Linked DNA regions of Homo sapiens: all the other regions are linked to region 1. Evidence: promoter capture Hi-C in human tissues and cell types (Jung and others, 2019). All regions are on one chromosome and are shown on one strand. Each heading gives the region's core, a stretch centred on a gene start or on the middle of the fragment in contact. The rest is flanking DNA. Distances are from core to core; before and after follow the strand shown. Region 1 holds the start of MTA1 (metastasis associated 1). Region 2 holds the start of PLD4 (phospholipase D family member 4). Region 3 has its middle 16 kb from the start of CDCA4. Region 4 has its middle 22 kb from the start of LINC02298.

Evidence for each region. The method cuts DNA at HindIII sites, captures the fragments that hold promoters and counts their contacts. A contact is called where the count stands out against the background at its distance.
Region 2: the fragment with the promoter of PLD4 here is called in contact with the fragment with the promoter of MTA1 in region 1 in 3 of the 25 tissues and cell types used here (H1 embryonic stem cells, heart right ventricle and neural progenitor cells).
Region 3: a contact is called between a fragment that was not itself captured here and the fragment with the promoter of MTA1 in region 1, in 1 of the 25 tissues and cell types used here (mesendoderm cells).
Region 4: a fragment that was not itself captured here is called in contact with the fragment with the promoter of MTA1 in region 1 in 1 of the 25 tissues and cell types used here (lymphoblastoid cells).

What each region holds. Positions count from the first base shown.
Region 1 is chr14:105,418,353-105,421,300 of GRCh38, reverse strand. It overlaps MTA1 (metastasis associated 1), which reads right to left and starts at 1,474. Exons shown (of 21, transcript NM_004689.4): 1 at 1,238-1,474. The coding sequence starts at 1,265. MTA1-DT (MTA1 divergent transcript) reads left to right here and starts at 1,562. Exons shown (of 2, transcript NR_125385.1): 1 at 1,562-2,279. RefSeq lists silencers at 1,381-1,640, 1,731-1,780, 1,811-1,910 and an enhancer at 2,608-2,948. The HindIII fragment of the contact is 32,458 bases long and covers 1-2,948 here.
Region 2 is chr14:104,923,438-104,926,385 of GRCh38, reverse strand. PLD4 (phospholipase D family member 4) reads right to left here and starts at 1,507. Exons shown (of 11, transcript NM_138790.5): 1 at 1,396-1,507. RefSeq lists enhancers at 673-1,182, 1,165-1,334. The HindIII fragment of the contact is 18,191 bases long and covers 1-2,948 here.
Region 3 is chr14:105,003,652-105,006,599 of GRCh38, reverse strand. No RefSeq gene overlaps it. Among named protein-coding and RNA genes, the nearest start is that of CDCA4, 16 kb to the left of the region's middle. The HindIII fragment of the contact is 8,903 bases long and covers 1-2,948 here.
Region 4 is chr14:105,114,525-105,117,472 of GRCh38, reverse strand. No RefSeq gene overlaps it. Among named protein-coding and RNA genes, the nearest start is that of LINC02298, 22 kb to the right of the region's middle. The HindIII fragment of the contact is 7,874 bases long and covers 1-2,948 here.

The sequences.
Region 1 (2,948 bases), core at 225-2,724:
TGAGCGTGGGGTGGGCTCAGCGCACCTGGGTCCACACAGGGACCTGGCAAAGCTGTATGAGGCTGTGGGAGGGGCTGCCGCTGGATGGGGTACAGGCCCACCGCCCCTCTGAGAGGACAGGGGAGGCCCAGAGCTGCTGATGCGGACTGACCGCCCATCTCACAGACGGGATGTAGGGGGCTCCCACCGTCCCCAAGGTCACAGGACTGGCCGGCCAGACCACACGGCGTCCAAGGCAGCAGAAGCCACGCTCGAGAGACACAGAGTGTTCTGGGCACTCGGGGTCAGGGGCATGGGGATCAAGCCAGAGCGGGAGTGACCCCAGCTCCCTCCAGCAGCGCAGGCTGCAGGTGGGAAAGGTAATGAGCACCTGCCCGAGAGGGTCACAGGCAGGGAGGGGTCTCAGAGTCCTGGGGAGGGAGGCGCTGATGGAATGATGGAATGCACACGACCCCCCACCTTCCTGTGAAAGACCCCACGGAGTCCCAGGCACACGAAGGAGGGCAAGGCTCAAAGCTGCAGGCCCGGGGGGCCCGAGCAACAGGAGGCTGGGCCCACGGAGGAAGCCCCTGCCCAGGAGGCCCTCCGGCCTCTCCCCAACCCTTGCAAAGCGCCTCCCGAATGGGCTGAGGTGAGCGAGAGGCAGGGAAAAGTTTGGGGGGACTTAGAGGCGTGCTCGGGATGCTCGCTCCCTGCTGAAGACCCCCTGAGGGATCCCTGCTGGGGGAAGCCCCGGGGCCAGGCTGCAGGAGGGCTCTAGGGAGGAACGTGGCCCCTCACCGGGGCTCCCCATCCCCAGAGGGGATGCACCGGAGTCCCAGCACAGGGCCGCGGGCCGGGGGAGACCCCACAGCCCCAAAACTCCTGCTCCCAGACCGGCAGCCGGCGCCTCCCAAGGCCACGTGCTCCCGCTGGGGGCTCCCGGCCCCGGACCCCCGGATGTCCCGCAGGCCCCGCGCCCCCCCGCCACCCCCGCGGCCGCCCCCTCGGCCCCAACAGGTGGGCCGCCCCCCACCCCCGGGCCGCCGAGCCCCGCCCGCCCCCGATGGGGCCGACCCGCGGGGCCATTTTGGGTTGGGGTGAGCACGGCGGGGGGCGGTTCGGGAAGGAGCCGGGGGCCGCGAGGGCGGGCGGGGGGCGCGGGGCCTGCGGGGCAGAGGGGCGGGGGAGGCGGCAGCGGCGGCGGGTGGGGGCTGCGGGCGGGTCGGGGCCGGGCATAAAGGCGGTGCGGCCTTACCTCCGACCCTGTACATGTTGGCGGCCATGTCCGGGCCGGCGGCGGCGGAGGGGCCCGGGGCGGGCGCGGCGCTCGGCGCGGGCGGCCGGGAAAATGGAGGCGCGATGGCGGGGGCGGGGGGCGCCGCAGGCGTTTAAAGGGGCCGCGCTGCTGCCGCCGCCGCCGCCGCCGCCGCCGCCGAGGCCGCCGAGGCCGCGCAGGGACGGGAGGGCCGCGGCGCGGGCGGGAGAGGAAGAGGAGGAGCGGCCGCGGGCGGCGGGGAGGGGCCTCGGGCGCCGCCGCCCACCGCACGGGCCGTTACCGACCCCGCGCCGCCCGCGGCCCGCGCGCCCCTTCCCGGACAGTTCCTCTCGGCGCCCCCGAGTCCTCCCCGCGCGCCGCTTCCCGGGTGGGCCCTTCCACCAGAACCCCCTGGTAGATCCTCCCCTGGTGCCCTGGGGGTAGAGGGGAGATCCTCCACAAGGGCCATTTCCCTGGTGATCCCTCCCTGTGCCCCACAGGTGAGTCCTGCCGTAGCTCTCCAGGGGTTCCTCCTGATGCTGGGGTCCTCCGGCATTCCTCCCTGAGCCCCCCAAGGGCCCTGAAGCTCAGCGGCCCAGCCCTGGCCTCGGGGTCCCCACCCCACACCTCCCTTCCAGGCCTAACCTTTGCCCCCGACACCAGGCAGGGCGTGTCCTTGGCCTTCGCCGCCCAGCCCGCGTGGCATCTCTGGACAGGTGGTCGTGCGCGCCTTGGTGTGGGCAGGCTCCGTAGCCGGCAAAGCCTCCCTGAACCGTGACCTGGTGAGAAGGCCGCAGAGGAGGTGCCTGTGCCCAGAGGCCACCTCCAAAGACCCCACCTGAGGCTGGAACCCAGCGCCTGCTGACCCCGCCAGCCCCAACAGGGCTGGAGTCCAGGAGCGGCCGTGCTCTTTCCGCAGTGAGGCAGCTGCCTTCTCTTCCCACCACCTGTCAGGATGCCTTCCCGTGTGTGCTTGTGCACAGGTCTAAGGAGAGGAGAGTCCAGTGAGTGACCCAGACGCCCCAGCCAGGAAGAGCATGAGGTGCGAAGGGGGCTTCCCAGATGGAGAGAAACAGATGGTCCCAGAGTGGCTTGGAGACAGGTGCAACATCAGTGTTGGGGGAGGTGAGCAAAAGGAGCTGTCTCGGGGTTCCAGGCTGCTGATGTGAGCAGCACCGTGGGTCTCTGTCCTGCCTGCTCAGATGCTGGAGGGAGCTGACATCTACTTGGGACATCCCTCTCTGTAGGACATGGAGCGGAGCGTTCAGGGCTATCAGGAGGGAGCCCCGTGGCCACGGTGCAAGATCTAGGCAGGCGGGACAGACATGGTCAGGATGCTGGGGACACAGCATGGGGAATCCAGCACACAGGACACCATCCAGGTGGGTAGGAAACAGCATGTGCTGGGAGGAAAGCCAGGTGGGGGTCCCAAGGAGAGCGGTGGCCACAATGTCATGGCTGCAGAGCAGACCAGTAAGGAAAGCCCCACCAGGGTTAGCACAGGGCCAGGAACCCGAGCTGCAGGGCGGTGCTGTCTCTGGGGAGAGAGGGCTATGGGTCCCAGGACACATCCTGCGGGCTGGGCTGCAGGGAACAGGAGCTGGCTTGCTGGTGATTGGGAGGGAAGAGCAGCCAGCCAGCGGCCAGGTGCAGGAGAGGGGCAATGACAGACAGGCAGCGTCTCTCCAGAAGGAAGGTGGGGCTGCTGGCC
Region 2 (2,948 bases), core at 258-2,757, 490 kb after region 1:
TCCTACCCCCAAAGCAAGCAGTCAGGCTGCCCCAGGTGCCACCATGGGGGAAGGGTGCCTCACAAGTACAGAGGCGCCCTCCCCGGGTGCAGGGAGGGGTCTGTGCCCAGCATGGTCACCTGGCTGGCCAGCCTCTGACTGAGACATCCACCAGGGCAGGAGCTGGCTGGCCCCTGGCTGGGATGGGGATGTCTCCGAGGTTTGGGGCCTGGGCCTGGGCAGTGCTGAGTGCCAGTGTCTGCAGCCAGGCTGGGCGCTGGGACCCAGGGCTCGGTGGGTCGGCTGTCCACCCAGGAGCAGCCAGCTCAGCCTCCAGGCCTCTGGGGTTCGTCTGGGCTGTCCTCCCACGGGTCAGGGCTGAGGGCTTTGAGAACCTGGCCTGCCTCAGCATGGGGCGGAAATGCCAGGAACACCACAGGAGTCGGGCCTGGACTGAGTCTGCCCTGGAGACCAAGCGTTATGGGGGATTGGGGGTAGGAGCATAAACCAAGTGTGGGGACAGGGGACTCAGGCCAAGTCACTGCGGCCCAACTCCCCCCACGCTGGGGGGTCCTGCAGAGGTGGGTGGGTGCCGCCCCCACCCCAGAGCTGAACTCTGGGGGATGCTCCCCCCACCCCACAGAGGAGACCTCAGGGTGCCCACCGTGTCCCCACTGTCCCCAGGGATTCAGGGCCCAGCATCGGGCCTTTGCTCTCCCCCACTAACTCTCAGAAGAGGAAACATGGAATCCTGGGCTGTGGCTGGTCAATGAGAGGAAACATGGAATCCTGGGCTGTGGCTGGGCAACGAGGTGCCAGGGCTGTTCTTGGACAGCTGCTCCCCACACTCCCTGCCCTCACCAGAGAGGACCTTTGCTCCCTTAAATGCTCCAGGCAGACGGGCAGCTCAGAGCACAGAGGCGCTGCCTCTTGCAGGCCCCATCTCAGACTTGGAGCCTGTCCAAGTCCCCTCCCAGGACTACAGACCCCAGAGCGCCTCACCACCTCCTCCTGCAATGGAACCTGGGAGGACCGCCAGCCAGGTTGGCTCAAGCTGAGAGACCCCTGCAGAGTAGGGCTGTAGCCCCCTGGTCCCATGGTAGATAGCGTAAGACCCTGCAGACATCAGAGGTCATGGCTGAAGGTGCCAGATTTCCTGCCCTGCAGGGCATTAGGCATGGCTGCCAGTCCCAGGCTGAGGTAGAGGGCCCAGCTGTCACCTGGCTGGAGAGCCAGGGCCCAGCTTATCCCAGCTGCACGGACTGGGGACGGAGCGAGTCATCTACAGGACTAGCTGGAGGCTGTGTGACTCTCTGGACCTGGGGTTGCTGGGAGGCTGAGGCCATAGGGAGGCAGACAGCAGCCCTTTCCCCATGCCTGGCTTTTCTCAGCTGCCCTGGCCTCATTGGCACATACCTCTGGGGGTCCTGCCTTGGTGTCTATCCTGATTCCAGCCGCAGACTGCAGGCCCTCAGCTCACGGGGCAGGCTCGGTGCTGCCTGTGCTCCACACCAACCTCCTCTTCTCTGCAGCTCACCTCCTCCTCTCTGCAGCTGGCTCCTTCCCCTTCCAGCTACTTCCTCTTTGTCCTGAGAGGCCCCCTCTCATCTGAGACAGAAACAGACGGCTGGAGCTGGGTGGGCGGGCTAGAGGGTAGGGCTGAGAACCTTCACCTCCAGGAAAAATCTACACCCCACTCCCTCGAGGTAGAGGCCCTCCAGTTGCGGGCCTACGAATCGGAGTCAAGTTCAGCTGCAGGCCACAGACACCTAAGGAACAGTGGCTTCAGCAAGGTTGTTCATTACTCTCGAACACTAAGCAGGTCCAGGGGCTGGCAGGCTAGAGACGGCCTTGCTAGAGATGATGGCATTGCTCCACTGCCATTGGGAGCCAGGCTCTCAGATCCCAGTCCCTAGGATCCCTGCCTTCATGGCCTCACAGTGGCTGCTGGAACTCAGCCATTGCCTCTGTGTTCTTAGCAGAGAATAAGGGACATCCCAGAGGAGACTTCCTGGAAGTCCCACAGGGCACTTCCACTTATCTGTGATCTGGAACTTGATCTAGAACTTAGTCACATGGCTACACTTAGCTGCAAGGGAGGCTGAGCAATGGAGGTAACTAGGGTCTTTATCTTGGAGAACGAAGCTGGGGCTGCTCACTGGCATATCTGAAAAGGTGGGCCTGGCTAGAAGCTCCTAGCAAGGGGCTCTGCCTCCCACTGCCCCACCCCCCGACTGGGGTCCCTGAGTAAGGTCTGGGACCTTGAGAACACTCCTACTTTCAATGAGGTCTGGGTGTCCACCCTGGCTCCTCCTTGTAAGGCCTATGTAGGGCAGGGGTCCAGGGTGATGGCCTCAGGGTGCCTGCAGGACACCAGTCAGGAGGGTGCAGTTCCCAAGGGTGGGGCCTGTCAGCTGCACCCCTGGGGCCAGTCTGGGTGGGCCAGGAAGTGAATGGGGAAGAGATCCATCCTCTCCCTAGCCCCTCCCAGATCTCTCTTCACCTTCCTGATGCTCTGATTTGGCCTTGGGTTCAGCCCTTACCTCCCGGCCATGGTTGGGGAGCCCCAGCCCTCTGGCTGGGTTGCTGGATGCCTGAATGCAGCTGGGCCCCAGGCATGCCCCCGAGGGTTGGGTCCTCCAGGGACTCTGGGTGAGGGTTACTCTGGGTATGGGGAGGGGCAGCCAGGTGGGTCCTGCTGTGACATTTGCAGGGCTGGGGCATGAGTATGAAGGGAGGCTGCCTTCCCTGCACTCAAGCAAAAGGCAGTTAGACAGAACAGGTTCTCTTCTGTCTTTTTTTTTTTCTTTTTCCTTTGAGAGAAGTCTCGCTCTTGTACCCCAGGTTTGAGTGCAACGGCTTTATCTCGGCTCACTGCAACTTCTGCCTCCCGAGTTCATACGATTCTCCTGCCTCTGTCTCCCAAGTAGCTGGGATTAAGGCACGTGCCACCACGCCCGGCTAATTTT
Region 3 (2,948 bases), core at 186-2,685, 410 kb after region 1:
AGGCGAACCTGCCCTCCAGGCTGCCCGGTGATCCTCTTACTGGAGCTGATGCAGAGCACAGCCAGGCCCATGGGCTGCATTTGGTTGACAGACAGGACTTTCATTACAGGTGGGTTCATTTCCCGCTGGGGTCAGAGAAGGGGCGTTCCAGGACCCTACAAAGAGCTGGGCAGGCCTGGGGACAGAGGGCACTGTGGTGCTGGGCCCCAGGAGGGGCTGCCCCACCAATGACCCCACCAGTGATAAAGCTGGGCAGCCTGCAGGGCAAGAGCCAGGTGGGGTGCGTGCTGCCCACAAGCTGAAGATCGGGTCCCAGGAAGCTCTCCCAGGGGCTCTGCCGTCTTCACCCTGTTCTTCCCACCTTGGCTGGTGGCCTGGCCTGTGACAGCTGTGCTGGACCCAGGCACCCAGCAGGACCAGCCACCCACTGAGGGGCAGGAGAACAAGAAGGGGCACTACCCAGCTCTGAGAGCTCAGTTGGGGCGGTGCCTCTGCCTCCCGACCCTGGCCAGAGGCCCAGCCCGTCCTGGGGACTGGCTGTACCAAGTCAGCCTAAGCCCAGTCCCACGGTGAGACACAGGCGGAAAGGTGCTGCCTCCATCCTGGCTGCCTGCTGTGGGGACTGGCTGGGTGGTGTAGGAGGGTGTGCACGTGTGTGTGCACCTACACGTATGTGCATGCGCAGCTGGAGGGGGTGCTGGGGGTGAGGGCCGGGGAAGTGGTCAGATCCCAGCCTGTTGGAAGATCCTGGTTTGTGATCCTGTCCCTGTGACCACGGGGCCACCACTCCCGCAGAGCTGCTCAGCCGTGCTCACACTGGGTGCGGCTGCGAGGAGCACGGGCCGTGCATTTTCCTCCTCGCCCGTGGGCCTGGCCAGCCTGGTGCTGAGGGTCACTGGGGACTGGGAGGGTCCCCAGGAGGCCACAACCCCTGCCACCACCCCAAACACTTGGCCCTCGACTGTGGCCTCATGGTTCCCCATGCTTCGCCTTCTGGATGCAAGTTGAGGGCCAGGCAGAGCTCCCAGCCAGAGGTAGAGGTGCTGTCCCGAAGCAGGCAGGCTTGCCTGGAACAGTTCACACACCTGGAGCCCGAGCTGGGAAGCAGGACACTGAGCCCCCGGGCCTGCTGCCTGGGCTGACCAGGTGTTAGCACTGTTCATCCTTTTTTTTTTTTTAATTTGAGACAGAGTCTCTTACTCTGTCGCCTAGGCTGGAGTGCAGTGGCGCAATCTTGGCTCACTGTAACGTCTACCTCCTAGGTTCAAGCGATTCTCTTGCCTCAGCCTCCCGAGTAGCTTGGGTTACAGGCGCCCACCACCACGCCCGGCTAATTATTTTTAGTAGAGACGGGATTTCGCCATGTTGGCCAGGCTGGTCTCAGACTCCTGACCTCAAGTGATCCGCCCGCCTTGGCCTCCCAAAGTGCTGGGATTACAGGCATGAGCCAGCGCACCTGGCCTTTTTGAGTTTCTGAAAGAATTTTAAAACAAATCCCAGATGTTGAGACATTTTGACCCTAAAAACACGTTAAACTTCTTTCCTTTTTTTTTTTTTTGAGACTGAGTCTCCCTCCGTCACCTAGGCTGGAGTGCAGTGGCATGTGATCTTGACTCACTGCAACCTCTGCCTCCCCGGTACGATCAATTCTCCTGCCTCCGCCTCCTGAGTAGCTGGGACTACAGGCCTGTGCCACCATGCCCAGCTAATTTTTCTATTATTAGTACAGACAGGGTTTCACCATGTTGGCCAGGCTGGTTGGTCTTGAACTCCTGACCTCGTGATCCGCTCGCCTCGGCCTCCCAAAGTGCTGGGATTACAGGTGTGAGCCACCATGCCTGGCCAGGTTAAACTTTTTTAAAAAGACTTTTGTTTATTTATTTTTTGAGGCGGAGTTTCGCTCTTGTCGCCCAGGCTGGAGTGCAGTGGCGCGATCTCAGCTCACTGCAACTTCTGTCTCCCGGGTTCAAGCAATTCTCCTGCCTCAGCCTCCCAAGTACCTGGGATTACAGGTGCCCGCTACCATGCCCAGCTAATTTTTTGTATTTTTAGTAGAGGCGGGGTTTCAACATGTTGGCTAGGCTGATCTCAAACTCCTGACCTCAGGTGATCCTCTTGCTTTGACCTCCCAAAGTGCTGGTATTACAGGTGTGAGCCAATGCGCCCAGCCAAAAAAGACATTTTCTTACACAACCACAATACCATTGTGAAAGAAAAATACAATTTCAGGGCCCCCAAATTCACTAGGCCAAAGGGAAAAATTAAGCTGGAAACTGACTCATTCAAGAAACCGCCTTTTTGTTTCTGAGCAAACAGCTGCAGGTAGAAGGCCACAGGCCTCCACAGGCAGCTGCGCTTGTCTGCTGTAGCTTATGAAAGCACAATTTGCTGAGCGAGACGATTGCGTGACGAACCTGGGAGGCAGAGGCTGCAGTGAGCCAAGATCGTGCCACTGCACTCCAGCCTGGGCAACAGGGCAAGACTCTGTCTCATAAAATATGTGTATATATTGAAGTCCCCAAATCTTGCTCTCTTTGGAAAAAGCACAGATCACAGACTGTTCCTGTGGTTTTGTGTTTCTTTTTCCTGGGCTCTGGCAAAATAAACCTCTGACTTGATTGAGAGCTGCCTCAGATGCTTTTTGGTTTACACCATATTGTAACTGGAAAATTAGGGAGAATTCTTTAATATCTAACACCTGCTTCATAGTCAAATGTCTGATTTTCTCCCTAAATTGTCCTTTTTTTTTTTTTTTTTTTTTTTGAGATGGAGTCTTGCTGTCGCCCAGGCTGGAGTGCAGTGGCGCGATCTCCGCTCACTGCAAGCTCCGCCCCCTGGGTTCTCGCCATTCTCCTGCCTCAGCCTCCCGACTAGCTGGGACTACAGGCTCCCGCCACCATGCCTGGCTAATTCTTTGTATTTTTAGTAGAGACGGGGTTTCACTGTGT
Region 4 (2,948 bases), core at 320-2,819, 300 kb after region 1:
CTCCTGTGCAGTGTGGGTCTGGTGATGGCAGCACAGTACAGCGGGCAGGAGGGGCACAGGCCTGTGGGCTGAGGTGGCTGCTCTGAGCTGCACTGGAGAGTCTCAGGAAACAAGATGACACAGTTGGGCTTTTCAAATGCTGAGCTCAAGGCCTGGTCAGAGAACAAGGTTTCCATCATCACTGAAAGAATCTCTTCTCTCTTAAGGCTGTTGAGTCTGGTGTGCCCTCAGGTCAGCCTCAGGGCATTATTGGGAGGTTTGCTGAATGCCAATGTAGACCGGACTTTCACCCTCCCTCAGGTCTCTTCTGTGAGAATCAGGGCATGGACTGGGAAGGTGTTGGACCCCAGAATCAGGAGGGGGGCGATGAGCTGCATACCCTGACAATCACACCAAGAGAAGTAGCCCCTGTTTGATGGGTCTGGTCCTGCATTGTTTGAAGACCTCTCTGTGACCTCACCTGATGTGGTTACTTTGCAAGCAGGTGCTGATTTCCATCCCACTCCACCACTACCAACCTCACCACTTCCAAACCTGCAATTACAATCAGATCCCGGCATGTCCCAGGGGTATCAGCACAAACCTAATTTGGGAAAAGAAGGCTTACACATCAAAAGGTTTGCAAGATTTGTCATTTATATTGTTAGAAGACTGGGGGTGTGTGTGTGGGGGTGGGTGGCTTCTGCAAACACTAGACCTGGGAGGGAAGCACAAACTTAAAGATTAGAGTCTGTTGAGCTGTGTGCATTTACAAGAGATTCTGAATTCAATATTTTTAGTTCAAGAAGCTGGAAGTGGCCGGGCGTGGGGGCTCATGCCTGTAATCCCAGCACTTTGGGAGTCCGAGGTAGGCGGATCACGAGGTCAGGAGATTGAGACCATCGTGGCTAACACAGTGAAACCCTGTCTCTACTAAATATACAAAAAATTAGCCGGGCATGGTGGCGGGCACCTGTAGCCCCAGCTACACAGGAGGCTGAGCCAGGAGAATGGTGTGAACCCGGGAGGTGGAGCTTGCAGTGAGTGGAGATTGCGCCACTGCACTCCAGCCTGGGCGACAGAGCAAGACTCCATCTCAAAAAAAAAAAAAAAAAAAGAAAAAGCTGGAAGTGTCTCTAACATTTTTCTTCGTTGGTTGATTGAAGCCTGAGCTCCAGAGTCACCTCCATCATTGGAGGCTGAGCCGCTGAAGTGCCTTGGCATGACATAGAGGAAGGAGTGCAAAGTGAGGAGAGAGGCACTCATCCCCTGACTCTCCCCATGAAGACCCTGAGGAAAAGCCCCTCACCACGGCCTGGGAAATAGGCAGGAGAGCAAATGCTGGCATTTGGGCCAGTCCCGAGGCTGTCCTCCACAGGTGGGAGTGAGAGAGGGAGATGCTGCTGTCAAAACGGCTCCCTGCCTGCCATGGGGATGATGGGCGACCACATCCCAAAGGGTCAGATCGTAAAGACAGAAGCAAAAATGAACGGACTCAGGTTGGTTAGAACAAATAAGTAAGTCTAGGAGCTAATTATTTGGGGATGAAATCAAAATAAAATAGAAAAGCAATGAGAAAACCCAATCAAGGAGAGAAAAGAGGCACTTGCCCTCCACGTCGCCCGCCTGGCCCTCTTCCAAGTGCACTTTCCTTCCTTTCCTTCCTGCTCTAAAACTTTTTAATGAACCTTTGCCTCTGCTCTGAAACTGGCCTCGGTCTCTCCTTCTGCCTTGTGCCCCACAGTCAAATTCTTTCTTCTGAGGAGGCAAGAATTGAGGTTGCTGCAGACCCCTACAGACTCACCACCGGTAGCTCGGATTCCTGCCACCAATAGCATATGTTGGTGCTCTGTGACTTGGGTAACTTCTGCTGTTAACATACTTTGCTGCGTGACTCCAATATGTTCCCTAGTGGTAAGAGGCCTCTATGCCTCACCTTCTTCTGCTAGAGGCATTCAACCCCCATACGCAGTTTTCTTCTCCTCTTTCTCCTGCTTACTAACCAAACCCCAGAACAATTCCTCTTGGCCATAAGTGACTCTGCTCCCCTGGCTGATTTCTCAGCTCACCCTGGCAGGTGGCTTGCCAGGGTGGAAAGGATCTTAAGGTCCTCACCAAGCAGATTGGAGGTTAGAATTTGGCCCTCCTGGGCAGGAGGCTCTCGACAGTGGTGAGGCTAAGGCCTAAACCCATGCAATGTCTGGGGTTTCCTCTGCTTTTTCAACAAAAACCAGCTCTTTTCCCAAAAACCTGCACTGCCCATTCTCCTAATTTCTCTTTGTGTTCTGAAAGGGCCTTCAGCACCCAGGCGGACCATCTACCTCTGCTTCCACCCCGTGTGCCACGTGACTTCTTAAACACACTCCCTGGCCGGGCGTGTTGGCTCATGCCTGTAATCCCAGCACTTTGGTAGGCCTAGGCAGGCAGATCACGAGGTCAGGAGATGGAGACCATCCTGGCCAACATGGTGAAACTCCGTCTCTACTAAAAACACAAAAATTAGCCAGGCGTGGCAGTGGGCACCTGTAGTCCCAGCTACTCGGGAGGCTGAGGCAGGAGAATGGCGTGAACCCGGGAGGCGGAGCTTGCAGTGAGCCAAGATCGCACCACTGCCCTCCAGCCTGGGCGACAGAGCGAGACTCCGTCTCAAAAAAACCAAAACAAACAAAAAAAAACACACACTCCCTCCTTTGGTCCCATCCCTCCTTCTGACCTCCCAACTTGGCCATGCATTCGCGTGCTCGCGGCTCTTGCTGTGTTTGTGGGGCAGCAGAGACATGGGTTCCCGTGCAGACATCCCCTGAGAGTCACGCTTATTTTTTTAAAAAAAAGAAGAGAAAGTTGAAATATACAACAAGAAGAAAATAATCCCAGATATCAAAAAGATTGTTTACATTACAAGAGCACATTTTGATGAACACCAAGCAAATAAATCAGGCCTTGGTTACGACATTATTCTTACAGAAAAT